Regions from separate parts of the Homo sapiens genome. Here all the other regions are linked to region 1. Evidence: promoter capture Hi-C in 16 types of primary human blood cells and fetal thymus (Javierre and others, 2016). All regions are on one chromosome and are shown on one strand. The core of a region is centred on a gene start or on the middle of the fragment in contact, and the rest is flanking DNA. Distances in the headings are between cores, read along the strand shown.

Evidence for each region. The method cuts DNA at HindIII sites, captures the fragments that hold promoters and counts their contacts. A CHiCAGO score of 5 or more calls a contact.
Region 2: the fragment with the promoter of MAP3K3 here is called in contact with the fragment with the promoter of MRC2 in region 1 in 1 of 17 cell types (fetal thymus); the score reaches 6.3 in fetal thymus.
Region 3: a fragment that was not itself captured here is called in contact with the fragment with the promoter of MRC2 in region 1 in 2 of 17 cell types (M0 macrophages and megakaryocytes); the score reaches 7.2 in M0 macrophages.
Region 4: a fragment that was not itself captured here is called in contact with the fragment with the promoter of MRC2 in region 1 in 3 of 17 cell types (neutrophils, M1 macrophages and total CD8 T cells); the score reaches 6.5 in neutrophils.

The regions. Positions count from the first base shown.
Region 1 is chr17:62,626,039-62,629,286 of GRCh38, forward strand. It overlaps MRC2 (mannose receptor C-type 2), which reads left to right and starts at 1,632. Exons shown (of 30, transcript NM_006039.5): 1 at 1,632-1,882. The coding sequence starts at 1,765. LOC107985020 (a long non-coding RNA gene) reads right to left here and starts at 2,012. Exons shown (of 2, transcript XR_001752961.3): 1 at 1,807-2,012; 2 at 399-971. RefSeq lists an enhancer at 1-358 and silencers at 1,552-1,991, 2,192-2,261. The HindIII fragment of the contact is 5,047 bases long and covers 1-3,248 here.
Region 2 is chr17:63,620,725-63,623,972 of GRCh38, forward strand. MAP3K3 (mitogen-activated protein kinase kinase kinase 3) reads left to right here and starts at 1,693. Exons shown (of 16, transcript NM_002401.5): 1 at 1,693-2,039. The coding sequence starts at 2,036. RefSeq lists silencers at 934-1,003, 1,614-2,003, 2,094-2,153, 2,394-2,443. The HindIII fragment of the contact is 2,948 bases long and covers 1-2,870 here.
Region 3 is chr17:63,416,856-63,420,103 of GRCh38, forward strand. TANC2 (tetratricopeptide repeat, ankyrin repeat and coiled-coil containing 2) reads left to right here. Exons shown (of 28, transcript NM_001394998.1): 27 at 1,452-1,552; 28 at 3,144-3,248. Among named protein-coding and RNA genes, the nearest start is that of CYB561, 28 kb to the right of the region's middle. The HindIII fragment of the contact is 164 bases long and covers 1,514-1,677 here.
Region 4 is chr17:63,380,028-63,383,275 of GRCh38, forward strand. All of the region lies in intron 15 of TANC2 (tetratricopeptide repeat, ankyrin repeat and coiled-coil containing 2), which reads left to right. It overlaps LOC105371856 (a long non-coding RNA gene), which reads right to left. Exons shown (of 4, transcript NR_188626.1): 4 at 1,204-1,468. Among named protein-coding and RNA genes, the nearest start is that of CYB561, 65 kb to the right of the region's middle. RefSeq lists an enhancer at 1,181-1,475 and a silencer at 1,181-1,475. The HindIII fragment of the contact is 621 bases long and covers 1,154-1,774 here.

The DNA.
Region 1 (3,248 bases), core at 382-2,881:
GATCCCAGAACATGCCACACCAAGAAGACATGTCCCAAGGGGCAGTGGAGCCACAGCCACCAGAAGGGACCTGGCCCTGTCGGACCTGCTGAAGCTAGCCGTGGAGTGCAGGGGCTTTGTTGGTCTGGCTGCTAACCAAAGGGTGGCTAATGGGACCCTTTCCAGGGGCCTCTAGGGGATTTCAGTGGGGGCTTGCTTCGAGGCTCTATTACCACTGGACTGTTTACCAAGAGCCTCAGCCTGACAGAGATGGGAAGAGACGAGTGAGCATTTCTGACCCAACACCCCCACTGCAGAGTTGGGGAAACATTTACCCAAGATAGGAGGAATAAAAAGGAAAAAAATTGAATTTATTTCCAAAAAACATACCAAGGTGGACAAGATAGGAAACAATACAATTTATATTACAGTTTTATTATTATTTAAAAATTTTATATTAACAAAATGAGATGGGATCTGCCTATGTTGCCCAGGCTGGTCTTCAACTCCTGGGCTCAATCTCCTCGGCCTCCGAAAGTGTGATTACAGGCGTGAGCCACCGCACCCGGCCCATATTACAGTTTCATAGTGTTTTTGATTACTCGTGGTAGGAGAAATGTGTCTTCTTTGCACTTGGGGTCTCAACGTCTCAGTCCTGCCCTATGCCCCGAGACCCCAAGAGGCTTTCCCAAGGTCAGGCAGGGAATCCGCAGAGAGGCAGGGCTGGACTCCAGCATCCTGACTCCCCAGTTCGTGCTCTGTGCTGCAGAGACCTGTTGCGTAACACTGAGTAACTGTGGATTGTCTAACCTTTTATGAAATTTCCAGCTGGTCTTTTGCTACCGGCCAGCAGTCCAGTTGGTGGGAGTGATGATGCCGGTCTTCTGAGACGTCCAGTGGACAGATTTTCCCCAGGTTTCTGGATGCAGCCCCAACAAGCAAAAGTGCTACACTCCTGCACCGGGAACACTGACACAGGGGTCACGAAAATGCTAAAACAAGACGTGCAAGAATTGTTGCGCTCCGCACACGTAACAAGGGCTCTGCCTCCCCCTCCCCCAATCTTCGCCCTGGTGGCCAGGCCCTGGGCTCCGCCCCTTCCCCACCAGACCGGGGGAGGGGTCCTCCTCGGCATGGAGGTAGGGGATGCTAGGCTGCTGGAGACGCCCGCAGAAAGAGGCGGGATGGCGGGGCGGATGCTGGCGGCCCGGGTCTGGCCACCTGGGTCAGCTGCACGCCCCCGCCCCGGGCTGGCCGGACCTCGTAGCCCAGGTCCCACCACGCCGTGAAGTTTGCGGAAAGTTTTGCAGTTGCTTCCCCGCCCGCGCCAGCGGGGGAGTTGTGACGCAGCGTCTGGGGATCCTGGCCGGGACAGAAGAGAGGGAAGGCGAGGCGGGGAGAGACTGGGAAACAGAGCAGCAAGAGAAAGGGCGCACGCTGGGGTCCTCCTGGACCCGGCGTGTCCTCCTCTCCGCCACCCCTTTCTCTCCCTCCCGACGCTCTAGCCCCAGACCCGCGCCTCCTCCCCTTCCCCTCCCACGCTGCCCACTTCCCTTCCCCTCTACCCCTCGAACCCTCCTCCCCGGTTCTGCGCTCCTCCCTCCGCCCTCCCTCCGCCCGGGCTGCCTCCTCCCTCCTCCTCCCCGGGAGGCATCACTTCGTCCCGACCCGGAGGAGGACGCGAGCCCCTTGCGGGCGGTCATCACAGCCCAGCCTCGGGGCTGCCACAGCGCGTTGCGCCTGTGCGCCCTCGGTCCCCGCGTCCACTGAGCGCCGCGCTCGGGGATGGGGCCCGGCCGGCCGGCCCCCGCGCCCTGGCCTCGTCACCTGCTGCGCTGCGTCCTGCTCCTCGGGTGCCTGCACCTCGGCCGTCCCGGCGCCCCTGGGGACGCCGCCCTCCCGGGTAAGGCGCTGCCAACTTGGCCAACTTCAGGGCCCGGGCGGGGGGAGCGCCGAGGCGCGGGCCGCTCTCGACTTTTCCCTCCTTTTCCCCCCTCTTTTCTCCAGAAGCGTGTGTGCGTGTGTGTGTGACTGGGTTTTTAAAACTCGTCTCCGCTTTTCTGAAAGCGGGGGAGGAGAGGGGAGGAGGAGCGCGCCTAGAGGTGGGGGAGGACCTGAGTGGAACCAGATGTGGCGGGCGGCGGGGGAGGGGAGCCCGGGGGACTCCAGCAGCCTAGGAGGAAGCGGGTGGGCTCTTGAGGACCCCCGCGCACCGCGCTCCCGGACCACCCGGCGCCGGCCCGTCCTCGGCAGGGGACCTGCAGGGCGCGCCCGGGGAGCCAGGGCTCTCTGTCCGGGAGTTCCCGGGCCCAGTCTCCTCGCTCTGCCCCAGGACTGATGCGTTAGGACGGCTTTCCAACTATCCGCGAGGGTTCGTTTCCCCCACCTTCCCCCCGCCCCCTGCATCTCGTGGGCGTTGATATTTTCTTTTCCACACTTAGTCTTCAAGGAGGCTTGTGGCGCGCGGCATCCGCCCCGCGTGAGCTCGGCAGCCCTGTGAGGAGGCTCCTGCCACTGGGACGCAGCAACAGGCTGGGCGCCGCCGTGCTGTGATGTTGCGTAGCGTGGGCAGCTCTGGGCACACTAGTGGCCCTCCAGAGGGGACAGACCTTGAGCGGCAAAAGAGCTGCTAAAGATTTTAAAACCCAACGAACAGGAAACAAAACAAAAATCAGAAAACCCCAAAACTGTGCCATTCTCTTCCTGCTCCTTATTCAGGGGTAACAGTGAAGTGTGGGGACAGACAGATCCCTCGCCAAGAATCTAAGAGTTGAAAGGAAAGATCCACTTCCTGGGGGAGTGGGGGTGGGGGTGTCTGGAGTGACCGGGGGAATCGCCCGGCCCAGCTTGGTCCTGCTGGCTGTTTAATTGGGGGATGGGGACAGTCCGTGCAGTGTCTGCAGTTTTGTGCAAGGACCAGACAGCCCCCTGGAGAGTCTGGGGCCTCCAGCCTGGCCCGTGCTTGCTGGGTTGGCCTGGCGTGACGTAGGCACAAGACACATATCTGCCAGATGGGAAAGGTGGGGGCCACGGTGACCCACATTCACACCAACCGGAGACCCCCGGGGCAATTCTGGGCCCACCTGGCATTGAATGTGGGACAGACACAAACCAGGCCGGGTAACCCCCTAACCCACTGCAGGGCGGCCTCACAGGCAGTTCCCCTACCTCCTCGCACTCCTGCCTTCCTCTGCTCCTCTGCGCAGGGCCTCAGGAGGCAGGCGGTGGGAAGGGGTGGGGAGGATGGCCATTCCCAGAGCTCCAGAGCA
Region 2 (3,248 bases), core at 443-2,942, 990 kb after region 1:
CTGCTTGCAGTGGCTCACGCCTGTAATCCCAGCACTTTGGGAGGCCGAGGCTGGCGGATCACCTGAGGTCTGGAGTTCGAGACCAGCCTGGACAACATGGCGAAACCCCGTCTCTACTAAAAATTCAAAAATTAGCCGGGCGTGGTGGCGCACGCCTGTTAATCCCAGCTACTTGAGAGGCTGAAGCAGGAGAATTGCTTGAACACGGGAGACGGAGGTTGCAGTGAGCCGAGATCGCGCCACTGCACTCCAGCCTGGACGACAGTGTGAGACTCCATCTCGAAAAATAAAAAAGAAAAAGAAAAGAAATAGGGGAGAGCCCAAGGTAATTCTTAAGGGATTTGACACTCAAGGCAAAGCCACCACTAAATGTTCTTAGTGGACAGTGGACAATGACATCTGAGGAAGATTATTCTGGAGCCTGACATATTACACTGGAACAGAGGCCGGAGAAAGGAGCCCACATTAATTGTGGTGGACTTGGAATCTGAAGATCTGAGTGTATAAAATGTTGAACAATGAAAAGGTTGGGGAAATTAATTATGGTGCCTTTAATTTTGAAACATCATGCAATCAGTACAATTGTTTTGGAAGGATATTTGGTGGCACGGGAAAACAGAATAAAATGTAAGCATACTACAAAACAATACAAAGCCATTTTTGTCAAACGCCTATCTAGGTAGGAAATAGATTATCTCTGGGGTGGGATCTTTTCTTTTTCATAGTTTTCTGCATTTTTCAATTTTCCTACAAAAAGCTCGTGTTGCTTTTATAAGAAAAAAGTTATTTTCTGAAAGAACCTCTGGCGGAACTCAGATTTCCAGGGACCCACATGCCAGCACTATCCCAGCCTCGGGTGTCTGAGGTACCTAGACCAGAGGGTGTGGCCCTGGAGGTGTGAGACAGGGAAAGCTGGGCTGGGCCGGCCGCCCCTGCCCGGGGCAAGAGCAGCGTCGGGACCGGAGGACCAGTCGGGGGATGGGGCCGCAGAGGTGGCCGCGCGCCGGGAAGTGCTCAGGCCAGACCCTCCCCACTCGTTACACGCCCTGTGCTGGGCACGGGGAGGAGCAGGACGCCACCCTCTGGAACCACCCAGATCGCTGGGGCCTCCGAGAACCCGGAGGGCGGAAGGCCTGAGGGCCCCCTGCAGCCGCCTACTCCTCACCCCAGCCCTAAAGTAGCCGGCGGGGAACTGCGCCAGCCCGCGCGCCCGCCGAGCCTTCGGTGACTGACGGGAGGTGGGAATGTGGGCGGAGCCTCACGCCGGAGCTGTGATTGGAACAACCAACACCTCCCAATCTCTCCCAAGAGAGGGAGACAGCACCAGAGAGGGATGCGCAGAGGCGGGGGCTTAGAGGCCTCTACGTGATTGGCTAACAGCGCAGGGAGCCGGGCGCTGTCCCGATGATTGGCAGGCGCTAGACAGCCCTCGGAAACCGCCTTGGCTTCGCCCATTGGCATCCTGTGAGAGTAGGCGGGATTGGTTCATCGTGTGGTGCTGATGATTAGCTGGCCGCTGAGAGTTAGGGTGTTGGGAGAGAGTTGGAGGGGGACGGCGGGGGCTGCCGACTTCCTTCTTGTTATTGGCTGGTGAGGTGGGTGGGGGTGGTGCGACGGCCCAGCGGCTGCCTGGGATTGGTGGGGGCCGGCGTGAGTGACAGACAGGGGGGCGAGCTGCGCGACCAGCGGTTTGTTTTTCGGAGCGTTCCTGAGGTGGAGAACGGTGGCCGGACGGAGAGACTGCGGGTCTGAGGGACTGGCGGGCGGGCGGGCCGAGCGGCGCCGCCGAGGCCGGGCTGGGCCGAGCCCAGGAGCGCCCGGGATGTAGCGGGCCACCCTGCCGATGCCACAGCGCCCGGCCGCGGGCGGAGCCGGAGCCGGAGCCTGGGGAGGCGGCGGGGGCCCAGAGCGCAGCCCGCGCCCCCCGCGCGGAGCCAGGCCCGCTGCCGTCCCCGCCGCCCGGGCCCCCGGCATGCAGCCCCGGCTGCGGAGGTGACACTCACGGACCTTAGCCACCGCCGCCGCCATCGCCACCATGGGTAAGTGTCGCCACCGCCCCGGCCTGTGCCCGCGCTGCTTCGCGACGCCCCGCCCCAGGCTGAGGGAGGAGGACCCTGGGCCACCGCCTGACAGGCATGGACAGCCCGCCCGGCCCGGGGCTGCGGACCGCCGGCCGGCCGGCCGCCCGCCCCGCTCGCGCGCCGCGGCCCGGGCGGGGGTTCTGGCTCCGCGGGGCGGCCCGGCCGGCAGAGCCCGCTCGGCAGCCCTCCTTCTGGGCGGCGCGGCGGGCGCATCCCGGGGAAGCGGCGGCGGGACCGAGGGCCCGTGCTCCGCGGGGCAGCCTGGTCCGAACGAGCCGGACCGCGAGCCCGAGGGCGGGGGAGCAAGAGCGCAGTGTGGGGCCCGGGCTGGAGGCTGCCGCAGGCCCAGCTGCTGTTGTGTCTTTTCCTTGATTTGCTTTTTTTTCCTGCCTGTGTCATTTCCTTCCCTTTGCTCACACAGGCCGGCCTGTGAGAGTTCCCGGGGCTTGCTCTCCAGCCCTGTGCGCGCCCCAGCGCAGGGGGGAGGGCGTGCGGGGCTCGGCTAGGAGGCGATTAAACTGGAGCTGTGATCAAGCGCGCGGTTGACAAATGCGTGCTGCACGCAGATTGCTGGGGGTCAGGAGTTGGTCGGATGCTGCCAGTTAGAATTCACATCCTACTTTTTGAAAAATCCCGTTGCAGGGGTTTAATCCATTATTTTTTTCTTGCGGTATCCCTGAAATTATGTAACTTTTGAAAGAAACATTTGCTACACAAAAGAATTTCTCTGAAATCACTTCCTTTTTGTCAGTATTTACAATTTCTACTGTGAAGATGTAATCTAAGGAAAGCTTTTAATGTCTTCCGCACGTAGCATTTGAGTTGAATTATATTCCATATCCTTTTTGGTAGTTTAGCAAATGACTACTGGACTAGACTAAGAAATAACATTTTAAACGTTCTTTACTTCTCCTGCCCAGACAGGTGTTGTGATACTGTTGTCACAAGTTTTGCAAAATATTTGGTATTGCCCTAAATAATAATAAAAGGGTAAACTTCAGTGAGAGGATCGTTTGCAAAACGTTCCGTTGCTTCTGTGAAGTGCCCCATGTGAAGAGGGAGCCTTAATGTTTGCCTTGCCCTATAGCAAGGTCAAGTCCTTTTTGTAGGAGGTTAACTGTACGCTATGTCAAATTCGCCAGATATTGTTTTGTGACCCATCTCTAC
Region 3 (3,248 bases), core at 346-2,845, 790 kb after region 1:
CGGGAGACAGATTTTCATGCTCTTGGGGTCTCCTGTGAAATGAAAGGAACAGCACCAAGGCCTCCCCTGCACCAGCCGATGAGGATGAGGCAAAGCTCAGAAGTTGCTGCCAACCCACTGATCTCTTTTCCCTACCAAATAATAGACTTTTTAAAAATGCCCTCATATTTTTAGGAATAATGATGGTCCCAAAAGAACAAATAAAAGGGTAAGGCTGGAAGCAGAGCAGGGAGAGGGTGACCCATAAAAGCTGAAATTCTTTCTAGCTCCACATTTGTTCAGAAGCGGTTGTTAATCACCTCCTGGGCCAATACTGTGCCAAACACCAGACGTCTGTCTTCTTAGGTAGAGGATTTCCCATCAACTTTTAAAAAATTTTTTTACCTATGCCCCAGGGCCTTTGTTCTGCCCAAGGCCTTGTTTTCTGCCTTAGGACTCATGACCATAACCAGAGGCTACCATGCTATACTGTGGCTTTGACACTAAAAGAAGGGGAAAGCCTTCTCTTTTAGCTTAGTATTTAAGGGAATACTGAAAACCATAGGCTGCCTAGTCGGCGTTGTTCCCCACCCCACCCCCCAGTCTCTGTTTCCAGGGGTTCTCAGGAATGACATGCCTGTGAGCGTGTTCCTCTAGGGAGAGCACAGACCTCAGTCACAGCTGGGGTCTTCTCTTGTTTTGTTTTATTTTTAATTTTAAGTGTTTCCTAAGTAAGGAACCAGTTAAAAAAAGGAACAGATCAGAGAAGCCTCTGTGAAATAGAAAGAAAACGATAATTAATGAGCACCTACTATGTGCCGGGAACTGTGCAGGGCTTTTAAATACTGTATCACACTTGATCCTACCCCCGGGGTAGGTATGGATGAGAAAATACACTATACACTTGGGGGTTATGAAGCTGGTCAGAGAATTGAACCCAGGTCTGTCTGACACCCCCTCTCCCTCTAGTCTCTGTAGTCAGTGCAGTTTCCTTTACAGACGTCATCCTCCCGGACTTTACAGGACACCTTCTCACCTGTCCCTTAGAAAGCCACAGTGTAGTGCATGTAGCAGGAAGGTGTGGGGCTCAGACCAGGGTCCACGTGAAATGTGGACATGTGTGCGTTTGCCTCCTACATGCATGGATAACTTCAGGAGCTTCACTGGAAAGGGTTGGTGTTTGGCTTCCGGGCTGAGAACTTTATTAGAAAGGCAAAAAGAGGGAAAATTAAAACTATTTTAATATTCTGGGCAGATAAAGTCCAGTGAGCAGTCGCAGCGCTACACAGGACAAAGGCAGAAGGAACTTTCAGTCCACAGGCCACGCGGCTTGAGCCATGTCAGGCACGTCTAGCGTCCCAGGCGTTCCATCCATGAATGTCAAAAAATGTACAAATAATTTGTTTTATTCCCAAGTTGTCTATTTTTTATATCTCATCAATGACTCATTTGCACACCTATTGTAATGACAGGATTTTGGAATGGCGGAGGAATTTGCTACTAAGGCCCTGGAGCTGAAACCGAAATCTTATGAAGCTTACTATGCGAGAGCAAGGGCAAAACGCAGCAGCAGGTGAGGAGAGAGAGAGAGGGTGAAAGCAAGAGGTCTCTTTTCTGAAAATTTGGCCAAGGCAGCGTCGGCCACCCTGGGGCATATGTACCCAAATACATCTCTGTCCTTGAGAACTGTCAGGGCCAAGCTTTGGGGATGGCTCCCATAGCACAGCCCTCAGCTCAAGATCAGCAAATCTGCTGGGCTGTGGAGGCCACGAATGTTTCACTTCGGGAGAAAAACACTTTTTCACTGGAGAATGGCAGCTTCTTCCAAGAAGCCTCTGCCGTATCTCAGGCATTTTTCAACCCCCAGAGCAGCTAGCACAAAGAGACAACGGCGACTTAAAGAAATCACTTAAGCAGAGCACCCCACCCCCGCTTTAGAGGGAAAGTAGGATGGTTCACTTAACATCACAGGTTCCTCTTCCTTCTCCCATAGGCGTTTGAGGAATCCCGGATTAGTTAGTCTTCCCTCTGGGGCTCTCCTCAAGTCTGGTGGCATCAGACCCCCTTCCACCTAAACCATCACCCACCACACACACACAGAGTCAAGAGGTCCTTGCTGCCAGGATGGAGAGGACCCTCTAAGAGAACACCATTCCACATTCCTTGTGCCCATCTGCTTTAGTTTGGCCACTGGGCAGAAAAGCTCCCAGAATAACCTAGAACCTGCCATCAGTGATCTTTGTGTAACTTGTCACTGTCTCTTATGCCTCCTGCCCTCCTCCTCCCCAGCTGCATGGGAAAGAACTGCTTCAGGTTCACTGCTATGGCCAGGGGCACATGGTCCCGAAAATCACACCCAGCTTGAGGCTAGTGATGGTGGTGGCAGTGATCGCACTCTTACCTAGCTGGGGCAACGAAGTCCTCACAGAAATCTGACTGAAATTCTCCTTCCCTCTGGGTAGTTCCTTTTTCACAAGGTCAGTTGCCCCTGTCAGGTGATATTAGTAGAGAAGATGGGAATGTCTCTGACAGTTCATTTCTTCATTTGTAAATTAGAGTCTCCTTGGAGTCAGCTCAGCTCCAGCCCCGAGTGACCTAGTCAGCAAGCCTAATGCCTGCCCCACTTTGATAGAGCAAATGGAGACACAGCAATTCTGAGAGATGAGGGTTAGAAAGGGCAGAGGACAGGGTTCTTGCCTAGAGTAGAACAGGCCTGAAATTTGGAGCTAAAATATTGAGAATATAAAGAAAAATTTCTGCTGGATCAGCAAGATTTTTAAATATGTAGTTTTTTTTGTTCCTAAGCTACTTGACAGTGACCCTGTAAATGACAACCCCACCCAACTCTCATACTGCCTGGTGTGTGTTTGGGCACCAAAACAACTTCCCGAAGGGCCTGGCTGGACTGACAAAATGGGGCATTTCTCCACTATTCCCAGAGAGGCCAGAAGGAAGATGGAGGCCGAATGGGTTAGGGAATCATTCGGACTCTTCCAGAATGAGTCTTCCTGTTTCCTTCCCTATAAATCCAACTAAACCGAAATACCCCAGACTCCCACAGACGCCACCACAGCTCTCTGAGATAGTGACCATGTTCTCAGCTCTTGGTGATTTCTCTGGATTCAGAATAACTCCAGTTCCTGTGTTCACATTTTGTCAAGCAGACAGTTCGCAGCAGCCTTAGAGGACCTGAACGAGGCCATCAAGCTGTGTCCCAACAACCGTGAGATCCAGAGACTTCTGCTGAGAGTGGAAGAAGAGTGTAGACA
Region 4 (3,248 bases), core at 214-2,713, 750 kb after region 1:
CTTTTCAGGAAATGTATATGTATAATCATTGACAAGGTGCATATACACCTATAGATGTGTGCTCCATACATGACCTATCATCTCCTGAGGACAGTCATATTGTAGCAATTAGTTGCAGGTTTTCATGATGTCTAAAAAATCACTGAGGGCAATTACTCTTTCCATTTTTTAAAATTGTTTTAGTGACAATAATAACATTCCTGGTGCTATGACTTTCAAACCAACACTAACCTTCCTTGGAGCTACTTCCCCCAAATCTCTCTTCAAATTATATCCCAGTTTTTCTCCCATTAGTTTGAAAACCTTTAAGAACTCTATAACATCAGCTTCTCTCTCAGCCTTCAGAAGGCTGAAATGGAGGACCAAAAAGAGGACACATAATTTGTTTGTGCATGTATGCATTCATTTGTTTATTCATCACTTACTGAGGCATTAAACTGGGTACTAGAGATACAAAAACAAAAAAGATACAATCCCTAATCTTAAGGAATTTGTAGTTCAGATAACAGTTTTGGGTTAACCCACAAAAGTGGAGAAGGAAGTTACTGTGCTAATTTTTCTGTCCCACAGTCTGAGAGTTCCAATCCCTACAGCCTTTTCAGAATTCTTTTCCTGCCTCAGGATGGAGAATATGGGTATCTTAAACAGTTCTCTGGGTCAGGCTTCCCCCACAGGATATTGTTAAAAAATGAAACCATTGTCTTCAGAGAGAAAGATGGCATTAAGGATAACTTCAAGAGCCTAGCAAATTCTTCCCAATATATAAGCACAGAGCCAGAGCAGCCTGGTCATCAGATGGACAGAAGTGAAACCCACAGTGACAAATCTTGTATTTGAATCTTACTTGTCTTGTCTAACAAATCACTGTACCAAAAATGACCTTACTTAGTAGGAGCAGAGTGGAGCTAAAATAACTGGCAAGGTATGGCATTCCAGTTTCAAGCAGACTAAAAAGTAGCTAATAATTCCATAAACTCTAAGAGCATTGTCCTGCTGTTAGATAGTAACTGAAAGACAGTAACTTAAGCATTAACCTTTTAGCATCACTATCTGCCTAGAATCAGATGCAAAAATGAAGCTAATCCCTGCCTTTGCTGCCCCATAAAATAAATACCACATTCACAGAGAAGTAGCATGAAGCTTCATTTGACCAAGCTTCATTTGACGAAGTATTTTATCCCATACATGGAAACGTACATTTAAACATGCCCTCCTGTCATTAGCACAGTTTTATCTTATACTGATGCAGACAGCATGGTTGCCTGAGATAAGACTGGCTCCATGTGTGATTCAAGCCATAAATACTCTAGTGTACAGCATATGGTGGTGACGTGACTGCAAGCTGAAGAATGAAGACTTGGACTATGGTTTTCCTGGTGCTGCAGTTTACAGGATCCTTTAAATGCAGTGTTCCCTGTTGAGAGGCTTTAACTTCTCCCAAACTGCTAGAATTCTCAATCTGCACCAGCTGTGGGTCAAAGACAAATATAGACTTTATGGTTAGAAATAGTTCCACTTGAAACTTCTATTCAGCAGTGACACACAATCCAATGGGTACTTTTTTCCAATTAATTTTACATTTCTCTGGTTTTATATTCATAAAGGTGATGTTTGTAAATAACCCGCTTTAAAGAAGCTCATTGGATAAGCCCCCAAGGTTAGTTTTTGCCATGATCTTCAGATACCTGAGCCACAGCTAAAGATCCCTAAGATGAGATTGCTCTTGTTTCTTCATGCTTTCCCTGTTTTCTTAAGTATTCAAAAATCTTGAGCAAGCTTATCACTGGCTGCTAAACAGTTTTGTAAATTTAGATTCTAAGGAAGGGACTCCATTACCATTTATTGCCGACAAAAAGATCCCTTACCTGAGCAATAGTTACAGATACTGAAGAGGCACTTTTTCAAGCTATTCGAACATAAAATTCTCTTTAAGAAACCATGAGCTTAGAATTTAATTATGCATTATTTTTGGCTACATCCTGGCTGGTAATGGGATCACACTTCTCTGCCTGTCATCTTTGTTGAATTGAACCAAACTGACGCTCTTTTCTCCCGTACTTCACAGGAACAAAGGGTCAACTCCACTAACCAGAAGAAATCAAAAGTCCATAGTACAAGTAAAGCTAGTATTCCAAATCCAAAGCTATGTATTTCAGGCGTATTTCTTATGTATCTAGTCCAGCCTCAGTGCGGTTCTCAGTGCTGCTTTGTGGTCCATTTACTGGACCATTTAGTTGACATTCATTTACCAAGGTCCATTCTTACTCAGCTCCTTTTCCCATTTCTTTTTCCTCTAGCTCTTAATAAAGCCAACTAATGAAACAAACAGCCTAACTTGTGAGTCACTGAAAAAGATCAAAGCTACCAAGTGTGACTTCCTTTAACTATTTTCCTCCCCTCACCAGCAAATCAATCTATATCATTATCAATTCTTACCTCTTTTTTTCTTGTTTTAGAAGAAAAGATGTTCCTATTCCTCTTTAATTGCATTATGAAATATAGAAAAGTACAGATAATTGCATGTAATCAAATATTATCTACCAGATTTAACAAATGTTAACATTTTTCCATGTTTGCTTCAAATATTTTTCTTTATTTTTAAGAAATGAATGTAACAAATATAATAGATAACGCTTTTGTATTTCTCTTTTACCCCATTTCTCTGTCTCCCTTAGAGATAACTCCTATTCTAAATGTGTTGGGATTTAGCACATGCTAACACCCCTAACATGTTCTTCTCATCTATATTTTACACTTTTCCAATGTAGGTTCCTGTTCATAAACAATATATACAACTATTTTGGGTTTTTTAATGCTATAAGATTCTATAACTTTTTTCTCTTTTTCACTCAGCATTCTGTCTTTGAGATTTCTCTATAGATGTAGGTCAGTGATTTTCAACTCTGGCTATACATTAGATTCTCTTGCAGAGTTTTTTTAAAAATACACACACATTCCTGAGCCTTACTCCCAGAGATTATGAGTCATTGTTCTGGAGTAGAACCTAGGCTTCATTTTTAAAATAGACTTTATTTCTTAGACCAATTTTAGGCTTATATAAAAGTTGAACAGAAAGTACAGAGTTCCCACATACTCCCCCAACCACAATTTTCCCTATTATTAACATCTTGTACTGATGTGGTACATTTGTTACAATTGAGGAACCAATAGTGATACATTATTATTAGCTGCAGTCCATCCTTTATGTTAGGGTCCACTCTGTGTTGTACAGCTCTGTCGATTTTGCC